Regions from separate parts of the Homo sapiens genome. Here regions 1 and 2 are each linked to region 3. The links are contacts of gene promoters, found by promoter capture Hi-C in blood cells and fetal thymus (Javierre and others, 2016). All regions are on one chromosome and are shown on one strand. Each heading gives the region's core, a stretch centred on a gene start or on the middle of the fragment in contact. The rest is flanking DNA. Distances are from core to core; before and after follow the strand shown.

What was found. Contacts are between HindIII fragments. The CHiCAGO score rates a contact against its expected background, and 5 or more counts as called.
Region 1: the fragment with the promoter of ATG3 here is called in contact with the fragment with the promoter of BBX in region 3 in 1 of 17 cell types (naive CD4 T cells); the score reaches 6.8 in naive CD4 T cells.
Region 2: a contact is called between the fragment with the promoter of PCNP here and the fragment with the promoter of BBX in region 3, in 4 of 17 cell types (naive CD8 T cells, activated CD4 T cells, total B cells and 1 more). The highest score is 8.1, in naive CD8 T cells.

The regions. Positions count from the first base shown.
Region 1 is chr3:112,560,675-112,563,913 of GRCh38, reverse strand. ATG3 (autophagy related 3) reads left to right here and starts at 1,952. Exons shown (of 12, transcript NM_022488.5): 1 at 1,952-2,457. The coding sequence starts at 2,386. It overlaps SLC35A5 (solute carrier family 35 member A5), which reads right to left and starts at 1,869. Exons shown (of 7, transcript NM_017945.5): 1 at 1,641-1,869; 2 at 381-529. The coding sequence starts at 510. RefSeq lists enhancers at 1,571-2,380, 2,381-3,190. The HindIII fragment of the contact is 1,809 bases long and covers 1,224-3,032 here.
Region 2 is chr3:101,572,926-101,576,125 of GRCh38, reverse strand. It overlaps PCNP (PEST proteolytic signal containing nuclear protein), which reads right to left and starts at 1,946. Exons shown (of 5, transcript NM_020357.3): 1 at 1,847-1,946. The coding sequence starts at 1,910. RefSeq lists enhancers at 1,427-1,586, 1,607-1,766, 1,847-1,976, 2,077-2,346, 1,790-2,735. The HindIII fragment of the contact is 5,212 bases long and covers 1-3,200 here.
Region 3 is chr3:107,521,420-107,524,439 of GRCh38, reverse strand. BBX (BBX high mobility group box domain containing) reads right to left here and starts at 1,478. Exons shown (of 18, transcript NM_001142568.3): 1 at 1,333-1,478. RefSeq lists silencers at 802-871, 982-1,071, 1,102-1,411 and an enhancer at 1,812-1,861. The HindIII fragment of the contact is 5,936 bases long and covers 1-2,551 here.

The DNA of each region.
Region 1 (3,239 bases), core at 703-3,202, 5.0 Mb before region 3:
ACAATAATTACAATAGTAAGTACCTCACAAATGCCAAGTGACCAAACAAATATATCCTTCTACTTCAAAATAAGGCGCAATTACACATTTTGCTATAGGTCCAGAAACACCTGTTGATTGAATTAACAGTCAAATGTTACGACTGGTTCTTCACCAAAGGGTTTGATTTTTGTATCTGATTGACTCACATTTCATCCATTATCAAACATTTTTTCTTGTTGAGGAATGCAAGGTTAAATAATCAAATTTAAATATGCTTTATCACTCACATGAAGCAAAAGGCATTATTATTTCCATGTTATATATAACAGAACCAAAGGCAAGAGAGAGATGTGTGATTAGATGGAAGTGCTCCATGCATATACCAAGTCTTAACTTACCTTCATTGGCAGAATACTTCACTAGTAAGATGCGACTTGAGCTTAAAGCAATGAATATGGCACCTAGCAGGAATGTATACATTGTTGACAAGGAGCATATTACAGGATGACTACAGCACTGTTTTTCCATTCCACTGTTTTTTAATTACCTTAAAGAGAAAAACACTTTCATGAACGACCTTGTTGGCAGACCCTAAACGCAAATACCATTGATCGTGAGGACAAAAAAGGAATTTTTAAAAAATTTTGGCTATGACTATATCAGCACCAAGAAAGTTGAGGCATAAAGAAACTATGACAAAAGGAAAGTGAAAATCTGATAAGAGGGAGTACTCTGGAGACAGAAAACGTAGAACCAGATTAGACCTGCTGACAAAGGTAGCAGGTGAGCAAATGACACTTTGCAACAGCAGAAAAGAATTCTTCAAAGCAATTTTGAATTTTATTTTTAAATTTTATTTATTTATGTATTTTGAGACGGAGTCTCGCTCTGTCACCCAGGCTGGAGTGCAACGGCGCGGTCTTGGCTCACTGCAACCCCTACCTACCGGACTCAAGCGATTCTCCTGCGTCAGCCTCCAGAATAGCTGGGACTACAAGCGCCCGCCACCACGCCCGGCTAATTTTTGTATTTTTAGTAGAGACGGGGTTTCACTATGTTGGCCAGGCTGGTCTCGAACTCCTGACTGTGATCCGCCCGCCTCTGCCTCCCAAAGTGCTGGGATTACAGGCGTGAGCCACCGCGCCCGGCCTCGCTTTTACTCTTATTAGTAAATAATTTTGCTGTAAGATAAGGCTTTCAGAATTGTATTTTCCTCCTCTTTTCCCTCGGAGGAAAAAGCTTATTAGGACAGACTTCATTACAATAACGACCAAAATGGAAATATCTGAAACACTGCTGTAAAGTTTTACTGAACTAGTTAGTGTTTGAAATGGAGGAGATCGTAGAAATCAATGAATCTAAGGCCCTCTTTTGATAGGCTGAGGACACTAAACCCCAGGTTGGGTAAGTAACTTGCCCAAAGCCTCCCAGCGTACTGTAGGAATAGCGCATAGAGCCTGCGGGGAGTGGGGAGAAATGCCAATACTGACAGCCCCATTGGGCGCACGCCTACAGGACGCCTCCCCGACAGGAGGGGGCCAGATTTCCCTTCACAGTCAGGGACTACCCTTCTAGTCACACATGCGCAGTAGGGCTCTTCACTGGCGCACCCTCCCCTCAGACGCAGGCGCAATTCCTTGCCCGCGGGGCGCGGTTACCTCCCTCAGAAGAGCTTCTAGTGGAAGAACGCACATCCTAGAGCTGAGACAGTAACTGTCTAGCCCCGTAGTAGCAGCAGTAGCCTTTAGGGTCCATACGTGGAGAAGCTACAGTAGGTATAGGCGAAAAAGCCCCTCCCTCTAAGCCGCCTATTGCAGAACAAAAACCACGATTACGTCCGGATTGGGAAAAAGCGGACCCGACACCCATTGCGCAGGCACGTTCAGTGTTACGCTTCCGGAAGGAGGGGAGAAGCGGCTTATCCCGCCCCAGCCCGGCCCCTTTCTCACGTCACGTGCCGGGAGAGTCTAGTGTCACGTGAGGCCCCGGTGGCGGCGCAGCTACGGCAAGAGAGTGAGAAGGAAGGGAAGCCGGAAGGGGCGCGAGTGAAGCAAAGCGAGGACAGACAGCTCGCAGAGGGCGAGGGGTGCGTGTGCGTCCGCTTCTCACCTCAGGTCTCCCTTCGGCCCCGCTGCCCTCCCTCGCGGCTGGGTGACAGCTGGGTCCGGTCCGTCGCGGGCTGCCTGGGGTGCGAGGATCGCGCACCCCGTCTTCGCGCGCTGTGCCTGCCGCCCCGCCCCCTCGTCCCGCCCGTCCCGTCGCGTCGCGTCCCGTCCCCTCGGGTGCTGCCAGCCGGGTGCTGATGCGAGTCGGTGGCAGCGAGGACATTTTCTGACTCCCTGGCCCCTGACACGGCTGCACTTTCCATCCCGTCGCGGGGCCGGCCGCTACTCCGGCCCCAGGATGCAGAATGTGATTAATACTGTGAAGGGAAAGGCACTGGAAGTGGCTGAGTACCTGACCCCGGTCCTCAAGGTAAGCCAGGCCAGGGTTGCCGGGAGCTGTCAGGCACATGCTCGACTTTTCAGGGACCAGGCGCCGCAGGAGTCCCCGCTTTCTCCGGCGGGGCAAGGTGTAGGAAGGCAGTAGGGCTCGAGACACAGGGAAGTGTGCAGCCCCCACCCGTAGTCTTAACCGGCTGTTCGTTAGGGCTTTCTGACTCCTCAGGGGTAAACTTGGAGCGACGCTCTGCGTGTTCCTGCCTTCTCCCGTCATAACTCTGCGCGGTCGGGTACGTCGGGTTGGAAGGGTGTTCGGAGGCTGAGTAGATTGAAGAACGTTAAATCCAAACACTGGAAGTCTTTTAGCCTTTTTAAGCAAGGATTTTGCTTCTCTTTAAAAAATGAATTTAGTGTTTGACACACAGAGGTCAAAAGAGACCTGAGGTGAGGTCACTTTTCCTTTAAGTTTCATGAAAGTCCGCTGTAGTGGGGAAGTTGTGACTGCGATCCCAACTCGTTTAGATTTCAGAGGAAGGAGGTGAAATTGGCAACATTATCTCATTCAGTAACCTTGAACCCATCTAACGAGCAAAACCTTTTTCCCAAGCTTTTCAGATAGCCGTAGCTGGTTATTAGTGATAACAAGGCACGGTTTGACCTTCCTGGCTGTATAATTTTTAAAAATATATTGGCAACAGTACAGCATTTTTAAAGTAAAAAATTGTGACACATTAGCTGTTACAGTAGTGACTGATTTTTTTTTTAAAGGTAAATTTCTACAACTGCCTTCAAGCTTTTCTTTTATAACTCTTTTGG
Region 2 (3,200 bases), core at 697-3,196, 5.9 Mb after region 3:
AAAAGTGACTATCTGCCACAAAATTACCAATTTTGCAATATCCATGGTATGACATATTTTAACTATGATTCCTATGCACAATTTCATTAAAAATATCTGACATTCAAAAATGGCTTAAACTTAACAGCACTACTTTCTTGTAACGGCAAGGAGACAAATTATGTAGAAGTTAAGGGATATTTACTTACTCTAAGTTACCAAGAAAAAGACCATAATAATTTTTCTGATACCAATTAGCAAAGTAATTCTCTACTACTTCTCCCCACATGCTAAAATGGAAACATCAATATTCATACTATAGAACTAATAACCCTCAACTGAAAGAATGGCAGGTAAATTATACAGTGGATTTATAATGACACTCAAGGTACATTTTGACAGCACATTAAACACGTCTGCTACCCTCGGTCAAGACAGTTAACGAGATGGCCTTAAAATCAACACATGATTCTTTAGGCTTTTCCTCAAACTACGTCTAAAATTTTTTGCTTTTCCTCAAACTACTTTTAAACTTTTATGTAATTTTATCCCACAATTTCCAATACAATTTTTTTGGGAAAAAAAATTCCCTAGTGAGAAAGTAGTAGATGGTTTAAATTTAAATTGTTCTTTCATAAGGTATTTTACTAGTTATAAAAAAAAAAAAAGACAGGGGGTGGGGAGGGAAGAGAGAGATGGAGTTCCAGCTTAACTAACAGAATTGTACGTGTTTTTTAAAAAGGAAATCCTGGGTCCAAAGTAATTAACATTACACTTAATCTTTTCAATAATTTTTGTTCCCAAGGCAATTAACATGAAACATTATGTTAGTAGGTCTACTAGTGGCCTTCATATGCTATTAATCGTTTCTATTTTCTCATATTAAATAATTTCGGGAATGATAACTAAGGTGGTCAGAATAGAGAATAATGTTTAAAATGTTCTAAAAACATTTTAAACAGCTCGCACGTGTTAAGTCACTTGTCTTGTTATGTGCAAAGAGGGAGCTGGAGAGATTACGTTTCTTTTCCTTCACGCACAAGACCCGAATTTAGGGAGTGGAATGGACAGAATAAGGATAGCTGTAACCTGAGTTTAACGTCGTAACAAAATACAGGAAGAGTCACGCTAGACTATTTAGTCGCCTAAGTATCTGGCAAGCGGTCAGCTGGCAACAGCCTAAGGGAGATACTTCAAAGAAAAGCAACCAAACCTTAGCCCTAGACCCCGCAGCTTAAACCAGAGGGCAGGCAAAGGCATTCCTCTTCCCCTCCATCACCTCGGCCCATCCTGTCACAGGGTCAATATTAAACTTGGAAGTAAAGGAAAGAGAGCAGGCCGGAGTTGTCCACCTCCTCAGTGAAAAGGGAGCAGCAAGCGTAATTAACTCCTGCGTGTAACTGAGAGGCCGGCACCGTCAGAAACTCAGCCTGCGGCCAGTTCCCGCGGCAACTACTCGGTGGCTCGCACTGTGTGTATGTTATGTCTCATGAGCGTCTCCGGTGTGTGTGTTTTGTGTGATGTGCGTCTCCGGTGTGGCGGTAGCGGCTCCTGCACCGCCGCTCCTGGTCCCACCCCGAGTTCGGTCTCCCTTTCTGGCGCCCATCTCCCTTCTCCTCGGAATCAGGGCCTCCGCTGGGGCCAGGAGGTGACGAACAGTGGCCGGCTCTCCCCAGGCAAGGAGGCGATGTAGGCCCGGAGCCCAGAGGGCCGCATCGGGCGTGCCCGAGGCAGGTCTGGGCCCAACACCTGGCCGGGTGAGGTCCAGATCCGCCCATTCTCGCCCCACCCCACTCCCCCCACCCTGGGAGCTCAAAGAAAGGCCCGGAGCATCCCACGCTGCCCACGACGCTGGGGTTGTGTTCACCTCCGGCGGCTCCAGCTCGCTGCGACTTTTCAGGCTTCTCGTCTCCCGCCTTCCCGTCCGCCATTTTCCCCGCCGCGGCCTCCCCTGCAGCCACGCCAAGGACGTCACGACCCCGCCCAACAACCATCGAGTTTTTGGGGCCAGCCGGCGTGGTGGCAGCCTAGAGCGGTCCCGAGGAATGAAAAGAGGCCGCCTTCGGAAGCGGAAGTGGATGTGATGTCATCGAGTAGCCGCCTCGGAAGGAAGAGCTGGGAAGGTTGGGCGGTCTAAGAGTGCTGGCTAGGCACTTTATTAGAGGGCAGTCAGGTCTTCATGGTCTAGCGACAGGTCCGGAGAAGTGAGGGGAAATGGAGCATCTCCCTGGAAACGCTGGGATCTTAGAAGGTTTCTGCATACCCAGATGTGGTTGCAGCTGAGGCTGAGAGTGTCTTCCGTTCCGGCCTTGCTGGATAACGCATGCCTGCCAACTCTATGTAAACAAAAAGCCTGCATTCTTTTTCCCTAAAGGGGAAATCAGTGTTTATCTAGCGCCCCCTAGCTTCAGACGCCTTTCATACACTCGTTTAATCACGGCGATTGTCCAAATATAGAATTCTCCTCTCAATTACCTGTAAGAGTTGAGGTCAGAGAGAGTAATTTGTCTAAGTCACGTAGCCAACTGTAAAGTTACTTTTTGTATAGTCTGCTTCTACCAAGTTGAGAAACTACTATGTCAAGTTAAGACTGCAGTAATTTCTGCCTTAATAAGAAACCTTTAGTGGATTCCTACAGTCTGCATTCTGAAGTCCGTGAGTTACATTAGGCCCTAGCCTACCTTTTCGGCTTCATCTTCCCCCTTTCTCAGTATTTATCCAGCCCTCCTAGCCAAATGGGGTCTATTACTTGCTTAGGGAACTGGAGTTTCTGGGTTTGTCTTACCATATATAGTTAGAGAAAGTCTTAGGAGTCAGAACTTGGATTTGAATCTGTTTTGCCCTTTCCTGCTTGAGTAACCTTGAGACTTGCTTACTGCCTACAGAGCTACCTTTTCTTCTCTATAAAAGAGCAATAATAATAGTACCTCCTCAAAGAGTGGTAATAGGGATCAAATGAGATCATCTTTGTATACCATTATTTGGTCACTTCATACTTCCCTCAGTTTGTGTGTGTGTGTGTGTGTGTGTGTGTTTTAAGTGTTGTCTCTCTGAATGGCTCAAAAGTTCCTTGACAACAGAGACCAGTTTTTAAAAACTGTGTACTGTGCGTTTCATATATGAATATAAAAAGTGTTCAATATTTGCGGATGGATTACTTCTCGGGCTTCAAGTCCAGGGAGTGGAGAAAGAATGAAGAAATTATCAAAGTGTGTTTCCCA
Region 3 (3,020 bases), core at 229-2,728:
CAAAAAATAAATAAAATATGATAATAAATTTCAGAGGGTGAGTGAGCGAGACGAGGTGGAGGAGGAAAAGAAACCTCGAGTCTGATTTCTGTAATTTACTAGCGACCCGGATCGCAGCAAATAACAGTGTAACACGAGTGTGGCTTAAGAGGGCTAGGGAGCTCTTTCTAGAGGCATCGACCCCATCCCCGGATAAAGGATCTGCAAGTTTTCTGTCATCGCGACCAGGCAAAGCCGTAACTTACCTTCAGAAATAAGACTTTAAACGGCCAAGGCCTTCCTCCTCCCCTCCACCACCACCCTCAGCCTCGCTCTCTCCACCTTAAACTTATTGACACAACATAATCCCACATTCAAGCAAAATCCTGACACAGCCTCCCTCCTCCTCTTCCCCCTCCTCTCTTCCCTCCCGTTCTCTCTCTCCCTCTCTCTCTGTCTCCCTCTCTCCCCCCCCTTCCCTCCCTCTTCTCTCTCCCCTTCTCCCTCGCCCTCTTCCCCCTCTCCCCCTATTCTTCCTCCAGGCTACTCTGGCACTAAAACAGCACTTTCTCTACTCGCCGCGCATTTGGGTAGGGGTGGGGGGTGAGAGGGCACTGATCTGCGGGGCCGGAACACCCAAATCCCAACTCTCCAGATGAACGAGCAACTGGGCTGCTGTTCCCGGTCACCAACGCAGACGAAACGTTCAATAAATCCACCGAAGGCTGGCTCCTCGTACCTTCCTCCACTGCCCCTGCTCCCCAGGCCCCACCTCCCCGGCAGCCGAGACCAGGCAGGGCTCCACGTACTTTCGCCGAGATGAAGTTTGGGGCTCCCCGGGCGGCCACGAGCCGCCCGCCGGCGTGAGGGCTCTGTTGTTGTTTTCCTGGGGCCGCTCCAGCCCGCGCCCCGGCGCCCGTGCCCCTCTCAGGCGGCGCTGCCTGTGTGCCGAGAGGTGCTGGTTGCAAACGCAGCCTGGCACCGGCTGGCCTACTACTCCCCAGCCCGGCCCCCAGCCTCCCGCTCGCAGGGCACTGCCTCAGCGCCCCCCGCCCCCCGGCCCCAGCCGGCGCGGCCGCCGCGACCCTCGCCCCCGACCTCTCCCGACCCAAAGTTTTGGCGGAGGGGGAAAGTGCCCAGGGAGCGGGCCGGCTGGCGGCGGCTCCGGACGCGCGGGGTTCCCTCCGTCTTCCTCAAGTCCACCCTACCGGCTGCCGCCGCCGCCGCCGCCGCCGCCGCCGCTGCTCCTGCCGCGGAGTCCTTGGGGCTGCAGCCCGGCGGCTCGCAAGTGAGTAGGAAAACAGAAAGTGAGGGGAGTGCGCCCAGGGAGGGCTGGGGATGGGGGGCGCCTACCTCGCGGGCTCGCCGGGCGTGAGGGCGTGTGTGTAGCTAGCCCTCAGCGGCCAGTCAGGGTTTCTCTATGGGAAAGTGGAGAGAAGCTCGCGGAGCCGCTCTGCCTCCGCTTCACTGTACACTGCTCCACATACAGTACATGCAACCCGGAGAGACTGAAAACACTCATTTTATATAAGGCAGCCTGCCATTGGCCCGCGCAGTGACGGACAGGCCGCGCAGCCAAACAAGAGGCCCGTTACACCCAAACACACGCACACATACACACATTTTACAGAGACACACAAAGATCATCACATTTTCTATTTTCTAATGTTCGGGACCTGTAGACAGTAGGAGAGGACAGGTAAAGAGGCCCAGCAGAGTGGGGTAAAGGGGAAAACCCCTGTCTGCACCAAGTTGCAAGGCTTGAAACTGGTGTCCTTTTGACTTGGGAGGGTTATGGTAATAAACTACAACTCCACTGGATATGGAAGTGAGGGGGGTTTTTCATCGCTGCCTTTTGGTGCCCCATGGAAGAGGCCTGCATTGTGTTACGATTTTACAGCCTGACCCGGCTAACAAGTGGCCAAGAAAGGCTTTTATCACCTTGGATTTCTTTTGTCAATGGGTTAGCTATCACATAGGCCAAAATAGTGCAAGATAAGTTTATCAGGACTCTAATGCATTGAGGTTGTTAGTGCCTCATTCGTAGGTAGATTCAAAAAAATCAATATAACAACACACAAAGATAAACATTTTGCTGAAATAGCCAAACAACTTTTAACTGGTCAGTGGACTGCCATCACCTGTGTGGACATGCAAACTGTGCTGTTAGGTAAAATAAGTCATGGAAGATTGGCTATTGACCCTTAGCCTTCAAAACAGACCTTTGATTCAATATATACATGATTTATATTTTGCATATTATATATAAAAATATATGACTCTTTACATATTTCACATCTCATGTGAACATCATATGTTGCATGACTTTTGGAGATGATGAACCTCAGGACTGGTCTTTCTGATTGTTTTTCAACAATGCAACTTCAGAAGATTATATGAGACAGTTCAATACACATAAGTCAACAGGTTGGTGGAAAGAAGTCAAAGCTGGAAATTAGAAGGAATAAATTGTAGATTAAACTCTTTAACCAGCTGAGCAATCTTGAGCAAGTTACTTAACCTCTCCAATGCTCAGACTTGGTTTTGATTTTTAAGATTAAAATAAGAAGCTTTTCCAGATTCCCTCAATTAAATGTTTATTCAGCATCTACTATGTGTCAGGCATTATCTTAGGCCTAGATGTTTTCTTAGGGTTCCTTCCGTTTTAAGAGTTGGTGAATTATTCTCAAATACAAACATTTTGGAGATTACATAAACACTACGATTTTATGGCCTAGGTAAGTAGCTTTAAAACTTAAAGAAAACCCAACTAGGGCAACTTATTTCAGTTCCCCTTTTATTTCCTTGATGCTGTCTTAAGGTTTTTCTCTCGCATCCATAAAGTTGTTAAAAGAGTGTATGTGTGCATGTGAGCACTCCTGTGTAAGAGGGAGAAAGAGAAACAAAATCAGAAAAGTTTAAAAAGTTCAGAAAACAAAGTGGTATTTAGAAATGTGATGTTTATTTTTTTAGAAAAATCATTTTTAAAAGGAAAAGTATATAAAAAATCACAGCATTTTATTTTATTTTATTTTTGAGAT